Linked DNA regions of Homo sapiens: regions 2 and 3 are each linked to region 1. The links are contacts of gene promoters, found by promoter capture Hi-C in blood cells and fetal thymus (Javierre and others, 2016). All regions are on one chromosome and are shown on one strand. Each heading gives the region's core, a stretch centred on a gene start or on the middle of the fragment in contact. The rest is flanking DNA. Distances are from core to core; before and after follow the strand shown.

Evidence for each region. The method cuts DNA at HindIII sites, captures the fragments that hold promoters and counts their contacts. A CHiCAGO score of 5 or more calls a contact.
Region 2: a fragment that was not itself captured here is called in contact with the fragment with the promoter of MYOM1 in region 1 in 2 of 17 cell types (megakaryocytes and non-activated CD4 T cells); the score reaches 5.7 in megakaryocytes.
Region 3: a fragment that was not itself captured here is called in contact with the fragment with the promoter of MYOM1 in region 1 in 1 of 17 cell types (megakaryocytes); the score reaches 6.7 in megakaryocytes.

The regions. Positions count from the first base shown.
Region 1 is chr18:3,217,757-3,222,778 of GRCh38, forward strand. MYOM1 (myomesin 1) reads right to left here and starts at 2,212. Exons shown (of 38, transcript NM_003803.4): 1 at 2,047-2,212. RefSeq lists a silencer at 215-509. The HindIII fragment of the contact is 10,525 bases long and covers 1-2,992 here.
Region 2 is chr18:2,687,849-2,692,809 of GRCh38, forward strand. It overlaps SMCHD1 (structural maintenance of chromosomes flexible hinge domain containing 1), which reads left to right. Exons shown (of 48, transcript NM_015295.3): 6 at 546-660; 7 at 780-899. Among named protein-coding and RNA genes, the nearest start is that of SMCHD1, 35 kb to the left of the region's middle. The HindIII fragment of the contact is 2,312 bases long and covers 1,108-3,419 here.
Region 3 is chr18:2,664,151-2,668,894 of GRCh38, forward strand. SMCHD1 (structural maintenance of chromosomes flexible hinge domain containing 1) reads left to right here. Exons shown (of 48, transcript NM_015295.3): 2 at 2,007-2,082; 3 at 2,720-2,881. Among named protein-coding and RNA genes, the nearest start is that of SMCHD1, 11 kb to the left of the region's middle. The HindIII fragment of the contact is 611 bases long and covers 1,648-2,258 here.

The DNA.
Region 1 (5,022 bases), core at 962-3,461:
AGGATTTCCTGAGCCCAGGAGTTTGAGACCAGCCTGGGCAACGTGGTGAGACCTTGTCTCTATTATAAAAATTTAAGATAAAATAAAATAAGTAAAATAAAGTCCTAGAACTGAACCCTGGAGTATGCTAATCTTATATATAAGCTCTCTCAAATCTCACAAACATTTCAAGCAAAGGTATAGTCTCAAACCAGAAAACAAAACAAAACAAACAAAAAAACCTGTTTGCTCTATAAGGAACATGCAGGCTTCTAGTCTCCCTACTTAAAGAGGTAAGAGAGTCGATTCCCAGGGTGACAGCTGGCATTGTGAACTTGAGCTAGCAGTTCTACTAAAAGTCAAAGGTATGTTTGTTTAGCATAGGGTGGGGAGATGTCACATGGCCTTAGCATTCTTGAATAGTTTATCCACTGAAGCAGGCCTATCAGCCACGTTGACAACCCTGGATGAAGTAATAGTTTTATAAAAGCTCCACCCCCAAGTGTTTTAATGCTGTAGAATTAGTTTTAAAGTGATCTGTTTTCTCCAAATGTCATTTTTAAAAAAATTCAAAATGAAGAATGAATCCTTCTAAACTCAGCATATTCTTTGTCAAGTTTAAAACTACTTTTTATTTAAACTATTTTAAAAGTCAGCATGTATTCCCCAGAGAAGAAAACTGAGCAAACTTCACTCCAGAAATATTTATCTTAGGGTTCATGGAAGATATCAGTCTACAGGGCATTTCCTAAGGGAAAAAAATAGCTACTAGCAAGCAACTTTGCTTCAACCCTTAAATAGATGGCTATTTTCTGTTACAAAATATGGAGGATAATTACCATGTATAATTAATAACTACTAGATGAATTTTGATAAAACAAAGGGGTTAGAAAATGTTAATACAGAATTACGTTAGGCAGTTATAAAGATATTAGAGAAGTTTCTGTTATGATACTACATTGTAACATGGCACATGTTATTTGAATGATTTTTCAAATAAATAATAAAGAAACTTGTTATGTTATAAACTAAATTCATTCCCCAGATGACTTGAAATGCTGTTATTTTCACAAAATAAAATCTTTAAATATCTTGCCCCAATACTATTTTTTACTCTCTTTATTTCTATTTCTCCCAAATACATTTATTTTTAATAATACTTACTATTCCTCTCACATAGATAGTAAGTTACAAGTAAACAGGGTTTGACTTGAAGCCCACATTGCTGATTGTCACAGCCCTGACCTCTGGAACAAAGGTACAACCACCTCCTCTTCATCAAGTAAGCCCTTGAAGTTAACTAAAGCCAGGATTAGCTCCAACACATGACGGCTGGAGTACGTTGGGAGGAAAGATGGTTTTAGTGTCTTTTGTTTCTTTAAGACCTAAATTTTCTTTCTGAAAATAATTTGAGAATTTAGGAAGAAATACAAATTCCATAGCTGTAATTTATGATACTTTTGTGCAGGCATTAGAGGGCAGAAGCTGATGAAAACGATTCCCAGAAAAATCACTATGTGGGGCTCTATGTTGCCTCTGAAATATTACTTAACCATTTGAGGCCATATCATTGTGCGCGCTCACATTTATCCACATTGCATCGTCACAGCAAGATCCCTGAATTATAAACTAGTGACTTCAGAGTTAATTTTCCTTCTTTCGGTCTAATTTGTAACCAGGGAGCATTGTATGGCACATGCAGGATTGAAAATGCAGGGCCTCCTGTCTCTCATCCATTTCAGATTTCAACCAAACCGTACTTGGAAATAGCATTAAACACACGCTTACAGTTCAATCCGAGGCAGATATGACCTCCTTACAGTTCCAGGAACAGCAGCTTAATTTCAGAAGAATACAGTGATGTGAGAGAAGAGCTGTGCCAGCCCGACTGGCACCCGGCTGTTCTGGTTTCCCTCCCTGGAGCTTCACTTTCCTATTTCTCTGTTATTCTGACATCTCTTTGAGAAAACTGCTGAGTTCAGAAGACAGAAAGAAAGCACTTACACTGCACTGCTGCTAAGCTCATAAGCTATCAAGTGCATTCTTCTGCCTCAGTGTCACACTTACCAGTTTCCAAAGGAGTAATGGTGGTGGAAATGTTCCGATGAGGCCGAGGAGCTGGATGAGAGAATGAAGACTCCACCTAGGTTGAATCCAAGACAATGTTAAGAGGCAGGGCTAAAGACAGGACCCTGGGGGCCAGTTCAAAAATAATGCATGTGGTCAGGCAGTCGAATGTCAGGCCACACAACCAGCCTTTTATGGCCAAGAAGGCAGATAAATATAGCAGCAGATGGGGAGGGTAGTTCCAAACCAGGAGGAGGAGAGGGGCATGGGCAGGTAGCAGCCTTAGTAATATAATTGCATAATGCCGGTCAATGGGTCTGGCCCGATTAAACCAAATATAGGGTTTTTATTTGGCAACAAGAGTTATTTTCAATGTCACTTTATCAGTAGATAATTTAAAAGTGTAATGGAAAGAGTGGTTTGTGTTAACAGCTAAAAATAGGTGTAGTAATATGATTCTCAAAATGGACTTCGTGGAATTTTAATGCCAAGATATGATTCTGAGTGTGCTGTTAACAACACACGTACGGTACATTTAAAAGATACAATGTGAAAAAAGAACTTGAAGCTAACTAAAGGCAAAACAAGGAAGAAATGGGTTACACGTGGTGGCGATTTTTGCCTGACATCACGGTCACTATTTCTCTCACTTCAGGAAAATTTACAAGGTTAAGTCTTAGCTTCAAGCCTGAATATGTGATTTCCTGTTCATTAACTAAAGCCTTTTGAGACGCAACTCAGTGTTTTATCTTTCCTAACTCAGAGTAGGGTCAGTCCATCTAATAAGAGATTCTCTTTCTTTGTTCTTTAAATGGTGTGACCAATTAAGAGGAGGTGTAACCCGGTTGTGAGAGCCTGTGTTGTGGATTCAGACCAGATCTAGATCCCACTATATTGATAGCACTTAGTAGCCATGTAATCTCCAGCAATTTATTTCTCCTTCCTAAGCTTCAGGTTTTTTGTCTATAAAATGGGGATAATCATATCCAAATTATAGGATTGCTGTGGTGATTAAATGTGATACTGCAGACAGAGCACTTGACCTAGTGACAGTCACATAATATAGACTCAGTAAATATCAGCTGTTATTACTGATACCAATAATATAAAAGCTCATTGTTAGATTACATGTATGCAGCAGGTTGGTATTTTGATCTACTGGCCTTATGTTCTGACAGTGATATTACATCAACTGAATAAAGGTCACCTGTGTCTATCAAAATTGTTTTTCTTTCTGAGACAGGGTCTCACTCTGTTGCCCAGGCTGGAGTGCAGTGGTGCAGTCTTGGCTCACTGCAACCTCTGCCTCCCAGGCTCAAGCAATCCTCCCACCTCAGCCTCCCGAGTAGCTACAGGCGCATGCCATCACACTCGGCTAATTTTTTTTTTTAACTCTTGGTAGAAATGGAGTTTCACCATGTTGCCCAGGCTGGTCTCAAACTCCTGGACTCGAGTAATCCACCTGCCTCAGTCTCACAAAGTGCTGGAATTACAGGCGTGAGCCACTGCACCCAGTCTCTATCAAGATATTGAACAGACTCAATATTATAGTATACTTCATCATGACTTTCTTGATGATAACTACAGTTAACACTGTTGAGGACCTATCCAGTGCCAGACACTGGGATAGGCAGTTTATATACATGATCCCACTGACTTATCATACCTTGCAAGGTACAGCTTCATTACCCCGTTGAGGAAAGCAAAGCTTCCAGAAGGGAAGGCATTTGCCAAAGATCACACAGCGGGTAGATGACAGAAACGCAACTTCATTCAGAGACATTTGATTCCAAAGCCCGTGTACTTGTAGTCATGTATTGCTGGCTCCTCCAGTGGCACTTTGATAGTAAGAAACTAGACATTTTGAAATGGCAATACGGGTCTTCACTTGTAATAGACGGTTAGCTTCTGAGCTACTCAAAGTATGTAAAAGAATCTGTTCCACCTAGTTCTGATCCAGGTACCTGTGAAATTCAACCTGGAATTTCTTCATATACATACCTCTGCTATTAGTAAGCATGTGGACATTTTAGCTATCTGGAAGCCATAGGCGAGTTTTCCAAGTGTTATGTTCCCCAAGCATCCATTTGTTCTCTAAATATCCAATACAGAATGCAGTGATTCTTCTCAAGTCTTATCCACCAGCCATTAGGATGATTCCTGGTGAGCTGTTTCTCTAGAGAACATTGGTCAATTGCCCCAAATCTTCTCAAAGCAGAAAAGAGGAAAAATAAACTTATATGCTTTTTAAAAAGTGTTTTACATTAGATGATTTTCTGGGAAATTTGAAATTAACAGCTGGCTAACCACTCCATTAAGTTTTCAGGATAATCACATATCTGTAAGGGTATCATGAGTAAGTGTAATTGACCAGAGTCCACATATATAAAGGAATCATAACTAAGTTACAATAATTGATTCATATGAGCCCAAGTTTTTCTTCTTTAGTTTTATTATCCAGTACATCACCATATGTAATTTATTATGTAGCTAGTTGTAATTCAGATAAATTTGCTGTTAGAAAAACCTGAATCTAGATGATGCCACAGCAGAAAGATCACTTAGGAGATTCTGCTGGGTCTAGCTCATGCTTCTTTTGTCTAAACTTACTGTATATTTGTTTGGAATAAACTCTTGCTTTCACAGGGATCTTGAGTATCAATGAATCAATGATAATATTTTAGTTTTTCTATAGTGTGTGTGCACTTCTCTCATTTTTGTATTTTTAACAAGGATGAAAGTTCAGTAAATATTTAAATGTATTGATACTTGTAGCCAGTACATTTTGACCTAATAAATTATTGTCTGTTAATAAGAAACATAAATGAAACTCTTCTTCTGTAACATTTCTTCCTTCTAATGGACAGTATTGGCACATGGTGCTCTCTATCAACATAAATGTGTACGTGTGCACATACACACATACACACACAAACAGGCATACACACACAGTTAAATGGTTGAGAGGCAGCATAG
Region 2 (4,961 bases), core at 1,014-3,513, 530 kb before region 1:
CCTCACCTTCATTCTGTTTATTTCTGATAATGGGGGATGATGTCCCCGGAGACTTTGCCTACATTTTGAAAGACCAGTGATGCCTCTTCTTCAGAATATTGTTATGGTGCACTGTTCCCTCAGAGCTCTTCATTTATCATGATATATGGAAGTGAGACTCTCCTTTGCTCTAATTACCATTATTCTTCAGACAATATTTTAGCAAGTTTTGAAGTAGCAAACAGTTTTGAAGGAAAGTTTTAGAGGCATGAGGATAATAAAAATACTTATTTAGTCCTGTTTGCTGAGAGATTTTCTGATTTAGTAGGATTGAGCCCAAGAGTTTGCATTTCTTAAAAGTTTTCAGCTAAAGCTGATGCATCTGGCCTGGGGACTACACTTTGAGATGCACTGGAGTAGATGTCTTGACACTGATTATTTCACCTTTCAGTTAGGGGTGTTTGCAGGCGTGATCATTTTATTAACACTGAATACAAGTGCAATGAAAGTTTCTTTTGACACTTAACTAGCTTGTTTAAAATCACTGCATTAATGTTTTATTTTAGTGATCATTCAGGATATGTTCGTCCAGTACCAGTGCCACGCAGTTTAAATAGTGATATTTCCTATTTTGGTGTTGGGGGCAAGCAAGCTGTCTTCTTTGTTGGACAATCAGCCAGAGTAAGTAAAAAGATTTCTTATAAATGAAAGTTGATCAAAATATTTTGAAGTTGACTCTGTCTAAATGCATTAACCAGTTTATTAGGAATTTAAAAAGTACTCTTTTTAATATTTAACAGATGATAAGCAAACCTGCAGATTCCCAAGATGTTCACGAGCTTGTGCTTTCTAAAGAAGATTTTGAGAAGAAGGAGAAAAATAAAGAGGCAATATATAGTGGATATATTAGAAACAGAAAGGTACAATACATTTTAACTCATAATTATAAATTTACTCCTTTGGATAGACGGTGGGACAGAACTTAACTTGAAAGTATGAAATTTTCAAAATGAGTTACCCTTTCCTTTAGTCATAATAACAAAAATGGGCTTTCTCAAGCCAAAAATCTTCAGACAAGTTGTCTCATAAAGCTTACTAAGCTTTCTGTAAATTGCTTGTAGGATTGTAAGCTTTTTTCCCTGGTCTGAATTTGGGTTTTAAAATCTTTGTTGTATAATAAAATTATAGAGTAGAAAAACAGTAACAGGGTAATGGACTTTCAGGAAATTGGACCTCTAGAGAAATAAATGAGAGATTGCTCTTACAAGTTTGCATTGAAATTCTTGTGTTCATAAGACAAAATGTTAACAAATTTGAATCTTGGTGGCAAGTAAATGGTATATTTATTGTATATTCCTTCAACTCTTCTTTGTTTGAAACATGATTTTTTTTCTTTTTTTTTTTTTTTGAGATGGAGTCTCACTCTGTCTCCTGGGCTGGAGTGCAGTGGCGCAACCTCAGCTCGCTGCAACCTCCACCTCCCAGGTTCAAGATATTCTCCTGCCTCAGCCTCTCGAGTAGCTGGGATTACAGGTGCCTGCCACCATGCCCTGCTAATTTTTTTTGTAGTTTTGGTAGAGACAGTGTTTCACCATGTTGGCCAGGCTGGTTTTGAACTCCTGACCTCAAGTGATCCGCCTGCCTCAACCTCCCAAAGTGCTAGGATTACAGACGTGAGCCACCGCGCCCAGCCTGAAACATGATTTTTAATCTAAAATCTTTAATATATAAGTTAGTTTACTTACTATTTTAAGAGATGGGGTCTCACTCTGTCCCTCTGGACTAGAGTGTAGTGGTGCTATCACAGTTCACAGCAGCCTCGAACTCCTGGACTCAGGCAGTCTTCCAACCTTGGCCTCCCAAAGTGTTGGGATTACGGGAAAATATTTATTTTAAAGTGATTTTGGGCTGGGCATGGTGGCTCAGTCCTGTAATACCAGTACTTTGGGAAGCTGAGGTGGGAGGATTGCTTGAACTCAGGAGTTTAAGACCAGCCTCTGTAACATAGGAGACCTTGTCTCTACTAAAAAAAAAAAAAAAAAAAAAAAAAGCCGGGTGTGGTGGTGTGCGCCTGTAGTCCCAGCAGCTCAGCAGGCTGAGGTGGGAGGATCACTTGAGCCCAGCTGCAAGTGAGCTATGATCATGCCACTACATTCCAATTTGGGCGATAGAGCAAGACTGTCTCAAAAACAATAAAAAATTTTTAAAAGGTAATTTTGAACTTTTAAAAATTTGGCTTTCTGATTCTAAAACAACTTGTAGGAAACTTTATAGAAAAGCCTAAGGAAGATAAAAATACTCCCAAGTCCTAGAGAAGCCTACTGAAACATTTTGGTGAATTTCCTTCTAATTCAGCTTTTTAAAATATATACTTAATAGTTTTGATCCCACATTTAAAAAATTAACATGTTGAGTATTTCCCCATTATAAAATATTTTGATACACAATGGTTTTTAGTAGCTTTATAACATTTCCTTCAATGAATGTAACATAATTTCATGATTCTGTTGAGCATTTGGCTTATTTAAAGGATTTTACAGTAATTGTAAAGACATTGCGATGAGTATCTTTGCATAACATCTTACCTGAATTACAGATTTTTTTCTTAGGTTAGATTGTTATAATTTTAATAGCTGTGGTAATGAATTTGAACTTTTTTTTTGAGACAGAGTCTCACTCTCTTGCCCAGGCTGGAGTGCAGTGGCATGATCTCAGCTCACTGCAACCTCTGCCTCCCTGGTTGAAGCAATTCCCCTGCTTCAGCCTCCTGAGTAGCTGGGATTACAGGCACATGCCACCACACCTGGCTAATTTTTTTCTTTTTTTTTTTTTTTTTAGTGGAGATGGAGTTTCACCATGTTGGCCAGACTGGTCTCAAACTCCTGACCTCAGGCAGTCCGCCCACCTCGGCCTCCCAAAGTGCTAGGATTACAGGTGTGAGCCACCACGCCCAGCCTGAATTTGAACTTTTTAAATGTTCATGGCATGTATTTCAAAACTGCTTGTCAGAAAGGTTAAACCCAAAGTCACATACACTTCCAACAACTGTATGGAAGCACATTTCTGATCATTTATTTTTCAAAAGAATGAGAAGGGGAGAGGGCAGCAAAATGTTGGCCATTTGATAATTGAAAAAAAAAAAAAAAACCTTTTCTTTCATTAGTTGATGGGTTGGATTTTTTTTTTCCATTTTATTATCCACTTTTATTTTCTCGATAACTTAATATACCCTTTGTGCAGGACATTACTTTCTTTTCTTTGTTTCATTTACTTAACAAATTGCATATTTTGATATTTTTACATAACAGTATTCCATCTTGTCTTAACCACCACAGAGCCCTATAAAATATAATGGTGGAAATATTACTTGCCATGATAAAACTGGTGAAAAATAGGAATTGAGAATTTAGGTGGTTTTCAAAACTGTGTGCATATTACAAAGCTTGTATACAACTGTGTCTCTTGGAGCACCATTTTTCTGCCAGCCTTTTCTGTGTTTTGTGCTTAGTTCTTCCCAACAAACATTTCTTGGGTACCAACAAGTACCTGGTCTGTTTCCTTTTCTGACTAGTCTTTTCCAGCCTATTTTTGTTGGACTTCTATCTCTGATCTGTGAGCAGTTTTCAGAATGTGGGTGGAATTGGTGGTTCTTGTTCTATAGTCAACAGTCTTACCTTTTCTAAAGATGTGTTATTTGCTACTTATGTCAAAAGCTCTCAAATCTGTGTTTCGTGTGAAAACTTTTCTCAATACTGAGACACTGAATCATGCTAGCTTCAGTAAAGGAAACAGACCATCCTGGGCCTTTTAACAGAAAATATTTAATAGAGGGAATTAGATGCTTACCTGATTATTGGAAGGGCCAAAGGAATGAATTATGGGCTAAGCCTTCTAGAATGATGCCAGGAATCTGAAGTTATCCTGGAGGGATGCTGCAACATTTGCTATAATCATTCAGTTAGAGGACCACCACTGGGTCTGGGATTCAGGAACTCGCTGCTGTATCTGTGATCCACGAGTTGGAATGATCTCACTGCCACAATTGCTCCAAAACTGGAAAACAGAGTTTCTGGCCATAACTAGGGCTGCAGTGGCCTTTTGACACTTTAAACCTGAAACCTGGTTACTGATCTTTCAGTGCCTTGTGTGATAACACAAAACTTTTAAAAAACTTCAGGAAATAGCCTCTGCTTCATTTTTGGCATCCACATTTTGGCTGGTACATCTAATTGGTGAAAACTAATTTGCATCCACAATCCAAACAGTATTTTTTTGCCTTCCAACCTCTGCAGCCCAAGAGAGTACAGTAAAAGGTGGTAGGAATGGGTGATGAATACCAACTGATCATATCCAGTACACTCATTTCCAGGTTCAATTAGATGTTCTTTCTTAGGTGTTCGAGGAGTAACTCACTTTTGGTACCTTTGAAGTCAAATATTGGCTGGGCACAGTGGCTCATGCCTGTAATCCTAGCAGTTTGGGAGGCTGCGGAGGGAGAATCTCTTGAGCCCAGGAGTTCAAGACCAGCTGGGCAACATTGAGAGACCATGTCTCTTAAAAGAAAGAGATCAAATATTATCCGTAAACCTTTCTTATTCTCTCCTTCTCCTGTCTTCCTCTCAACTACCCTTTACAATTACTGGCATCCACTAGCCATGCAGTTAAAGTTGGTAATCCTTTTTGTTAATCATTCAGCACATTTAATTTTGTCTTTTATATTATTTTCTTTCATCTATCCTCTCTTCCACCCACTTTCCACTGCTCTAATTCAGCCATCCCGCTTCATCTTTTATCATGTTTATCGTATGTCCTAAAACTACCTTGTTTCCTTTATGCTCTTGAATTCATGTTCTCATTTGTCTGGAATGTTATTATTCAGTCATCTGCTGGGTGACTGTCACCCTCGTTTTACCTCTGTAGCTCTTGGTTCATATCTTCATACATAATAGCATATTGTTTTGTAATCATTTGTTTTTTCATCT
Region 3 (4,744 bases), core at 703-3,202, 550 kb before region 1:
TTGTAATGTATTTAAGGCATATTCTAGGTCTTAGGTCATTTCACCCCATATACTTCAGCCTGAATATGTATTATCAAACCATTAAAATAAAGCATTTTTAATATTGTCTAATGTCCCTGTCCATATTGAGTTCTCTGAATGTTTAAAAGTATCTTTTTATAGTTGGTTTGTTTAAATCAGGATCTGACATAGTCCTCACATTAAATTTGTTTTTTTTTTGTTTCCTAATTATTTTCAATTTAAAGCATTTGAGCAAATTCCTCCTCCACCAGTCTCTTTAGTTTTCCTGCAGTTGACCTCTTGAAGAAATCAACTAGGTCTTTAATATTCCACATTATGGATTTGTTTGTGCTCTTTTTTGGTGTTACTTAATTTGTTTTATCTCCGTATGTATTCTGTAAACTAAAAGTTAGCTTTAAAGGCTTGATTTGATTTAGGTTCAACTTCTTTGGGGTCAGGAGGCAAAGAATGCTTTGTAGGTAGTACTGATACTTCATATGGCATTACACTGGGAGGCACGTGATGTGTGGGTGTTTCACCCACTCATAGCAATGCTAACATTAAAATCTTGGGATTCACGTGATTTCAGCAGGATTCCTCCATAAGGAAGTTTTGATCTGACTTGCCATTCCTCCTGTGTTTATTAGCTGGAATTCTTTAAGGAACAACTTTGCCTCATCAGCCAGAGCTATTTTGGTTATCCTGAAGTACCATTGATACAAGAAAAGCAGTGTAAATAATTTGTTCTTTCCCTTTAATTTGTCAGTGTTCAGAGTGACAAGTTGGTGCCCTAGCTCATCCCAGTGGTGAGCAATAATGGTTTTTATTAATATCATTTTTGAAGATTTGAGTATCACTAGTCTAGATTTTTTAGATGTTTTCAATAAGAATGTTAATCTTTAGACTAGTCCATTACTACCCGAAACAGAAGCCTTTTCTCTTAACTATATATTGCTGTATTGTTTCATTTTAGACAGAGCATGTATGTTTTAATTCTAATGTAAATGAAAATGTTAACCACTTTTCTAATTCTCATTTTTTGATTAATGTGATTTTACAGTTCATGTGTTCATTGGTCATTTGTATTTTCTCCTTTTCATTTTTTTGTGTTTTTACTTTTTCTCTTTGTTGATCCTTGTCACCCTTTTGTTTCTTGTTGCAATTTCCCTCTAATTTTTTTTTTTCTTTGAGACGGAGTCTCATTCTGTTGCTCAGGCTGGAGTGCAGTGGTGTGATCTTGGCTCACTGCAACCTCCGCCTCCCCAGTTCAAGTGATTCTCCTGCCTTGGCCTCCTGAGTAGCTGGGATTACAGGTGTGCGCCACCACACCTGGCTAATTTTTGTATTTTTAGTAGAGACAGGGTTTCACCATGTTGGTCGGGCTGGTCTTGAACTCCTGACCTTGTGATCCGACGGCCTCAGCCTCCCAAAGTGCTGGGATGACAGGCATGAGCTACCATGCCTGGCCAGTTTCCCTCTAATTTATAATTTGCTTTAATTTTTAAAGTTATTCGTTTGAATGGACCTGTATGTCTTACAAAGCATGGCTGTTCTTCCCTCCGTGCTATAAAATGCTAACTTCTGTTTTCTTCTATTTTGTTTTTGCATACTTAAATATCTAGTCTATATGAACATGAGTTATGTTAAAGCTTTGTTCCAAATAAGTTGATAACTTGTACGTTAGTATGAAATACTATGTCTTTTGTCTGGGTGGGTCCTGCTGATGATGTTAAAATGCTTTTAAAACGTTCCACCTAATCACTAGTGTTCCTAGGTTGCTTATAGTAGCAGAAAAAATGACCTTGTTAAGTAAGTAATTTATATAGATTTATGCACTATTAATTATGCAAAGGCAAAATTTAGATATACTGAGTTTTGTATTTCCTAGATAAGTGTAGTGGTTACAGAATTATAATGTACTATCAATATTTTCATATTTTTATAAATTTGAATAATACATTTATTTCCTTTGTGTAATAAGTGATTTTATTTCTTATTTTGGATAGACACTTGGCATTTCACCTGAAGAAAAATTTGTTATTACAACAACAAGTAGGAAAGAAATTACCTGTGATAATTTTGGTAGGTAAACAGTGTTACTAAGTTGATGCTTTTATATTTAATAAGGTTTAGTACATATATAGCAATAACTTTTATTAGATATGCATCTAAATCTGTTGATGACTTTTGTTAATTTGTTGGGATGAGGGAGGAAACTGGCTGCATGTGCATAGTCTGCACAGAGGTTATATTTTTCAAGCTTGATTATAGAAAAATAGTTGATATCAGTTATGGCTACAGAAGATGATTCTGCCTAGCACAAATCTTCTGAAGCTAATTTTGCTAACCAACTTGGATTATTCCATTATCTTTTTTTAACCTAATTAGTTTTCCAAGACCTGCTGGTTTTTCATGCCTGATTCCATCTGAATTTAACCATTCTCCATTCATGTTGACACTACGCTATTTTAGATTCTCGTCTGATTTCCTGTGATAGTTTAACTTATTAAGAATTGAGTGTTTCAAATGAATGGAAGGAAGTATTTGTGCTTGTTTCATTAATATCCTTAACATGACTTTGCTTACAGGTAGATGATTGGGGGTTTTTCTTTACCATCATTAAAGATATTTCATAGATAGAATTTGTATATTCACAATTATAAGTTCATTGAGTTTCTGATGCTGACCTAGCACTTATGATTTTCACTCTTGATTACAGATGAAACTGTTAAAGATGGAGTCACCTTATACCTGCTACAGTCGGTCAATCAGTTACTACTGACAGCTACGAAAGAACGAATTGACTTCTTACCTCACTATGACACACTGGTTAAAAGTGGCATGTATGAATATTATGCCAGTGAAGGACAAAATCCTTTGCGTAAGTATCCCATTCATACTAATTTTGATAAATTATTACCTGCCTTTATCCCCTGATTACGTATCCCATTCCTTCACTTTTTGTAAATCTTCTTATTACACTTTATTAGAAGACCACTCATTTTCTTTCTTACTCAAATTCATCACGGTATTATTATGTCTTCTACCTGTGTCATCTTCAGTGAAAAAAAACTCTCCTTTAAAGCTAACCTACTAGTAGAACTTTTCTTTTCAACTCATAAGGGGTCTTGACCTATACAGCTTTCCATCGCCTGTATACTCTCTTCTCCTGATTTCCTAGCCTCCCATAGACCTTTCCCAATTAAGAAAATACTTGTTTTACTTTGCAAATACATATAGCTAGGTTGCGTAAGTAAGAAGTTTGTGTTCATATTTCCATGTCTTTATCATTTCTTTCTACCTTTACTACTTGCTAGTTTCTGTCCTTTCTCTGGACCATTTGCTAGTGATCTTTACAAATCAATTAGTTTACTGAATCCTCTCTTTCAGGACTTGCCAAAGTGTCTAATACTACTTACATGTTCATCGTAAACTTTTGTATTAAAATTATTTTTTTCTCATTATATGTGTATTTGCAGGAAATTAGAAAACATAGATAAGCAAATAGAACATAAAGAATATCTCTACTACCCAGACATAACCACCACTAACACTTTGGTGTTTATCATTTCAGACCTTTTCATATTATTTGATTTTTAATGGTTTTATATGGTGCATACTTCTTTAACCTACATTTTGTTTAAAAATAAAGTGAACATCTTTTAATATATATGTCTCTGTATATTTTGATAATATTTAGGTAATATAATTTATTTGAACAGTATTCTTTTTCTTTTTTTGTTTTTTGAGACAGAGTCTCTCTCTGTCACCCTGGCTGGAGTGCAGTGGTGTGATCTTGGCTCACTGCAACCTCTGCCTCCTAAGTTCAAGTGATTCTCCTGCCTCTGCCTCCCGAGTAGTTGGGATTACAGGCAGGCACCACCACGCCTGGCTAATTTTTGTATTTTTAGTAGAGACGGAGTTTCACCATGTTGACCAGGCTGGTCTTGAACTCCTGACCTCAAGTGATCCTCCCGCCTCGGCCTCCCAAAGTGCTGGGATTACAGGTATAAGCCACCATGCCCGGTCTGAACAGTGTTCTTCTATTAGACATTTAGGTTGTTTTTAATTGTGTTATGGTTACAAATGACTCTGAATGTTCTTGTGACTAAATCTGTGTGTGCTTTCTTAATGTAACACTACCACTGCTGTCATTACTATTGGCTACAGTGCCAGGCATTGTACCAAGTACTTATGAGCGTTGTCTCATTTACTCCTTAATCCTGTGTGGTAGCTAATGTTAGGAAATAATATAGGTAAAGATCCTGTTTTGCAGAATTAACTGGGGCTAAGAGATTTTAGGTGACTTGCTACACTACTAGTGAGTAGTGGAGCCAGCATTTAAACTTTAGGAGAGTGACTTCAGAGCTTGAATATATAACTAGTATATTTATTACCTCTCATGTTGTTCTTTTTGTACAAAAAAGCTCTTCTCCCATCTTAAAAACACTAAAGTCTTACTTCCTTCACTGGCTACTGCCTAAAATTTTTTGATCCTGTTTATAGCAAAACTCCTCCAGAGAGTTGAATGCATTCGCTATTAGCAGTCCTTCTCTTCCTCCCATTGTTTCTTACTCTGACCAGACGTTTTCGCCTACCACTCTACTGTACCCACGCTCTTATGGTCACCAACAGCTAAATCCAGTGATAAATTTTTAATTTTCAGTTCTAATTTTTCTTGACGTGTTACTTGACATTGTTTTGTCACTTCTTCCTTTTTGATATACTTTTTTCACTTGACTTT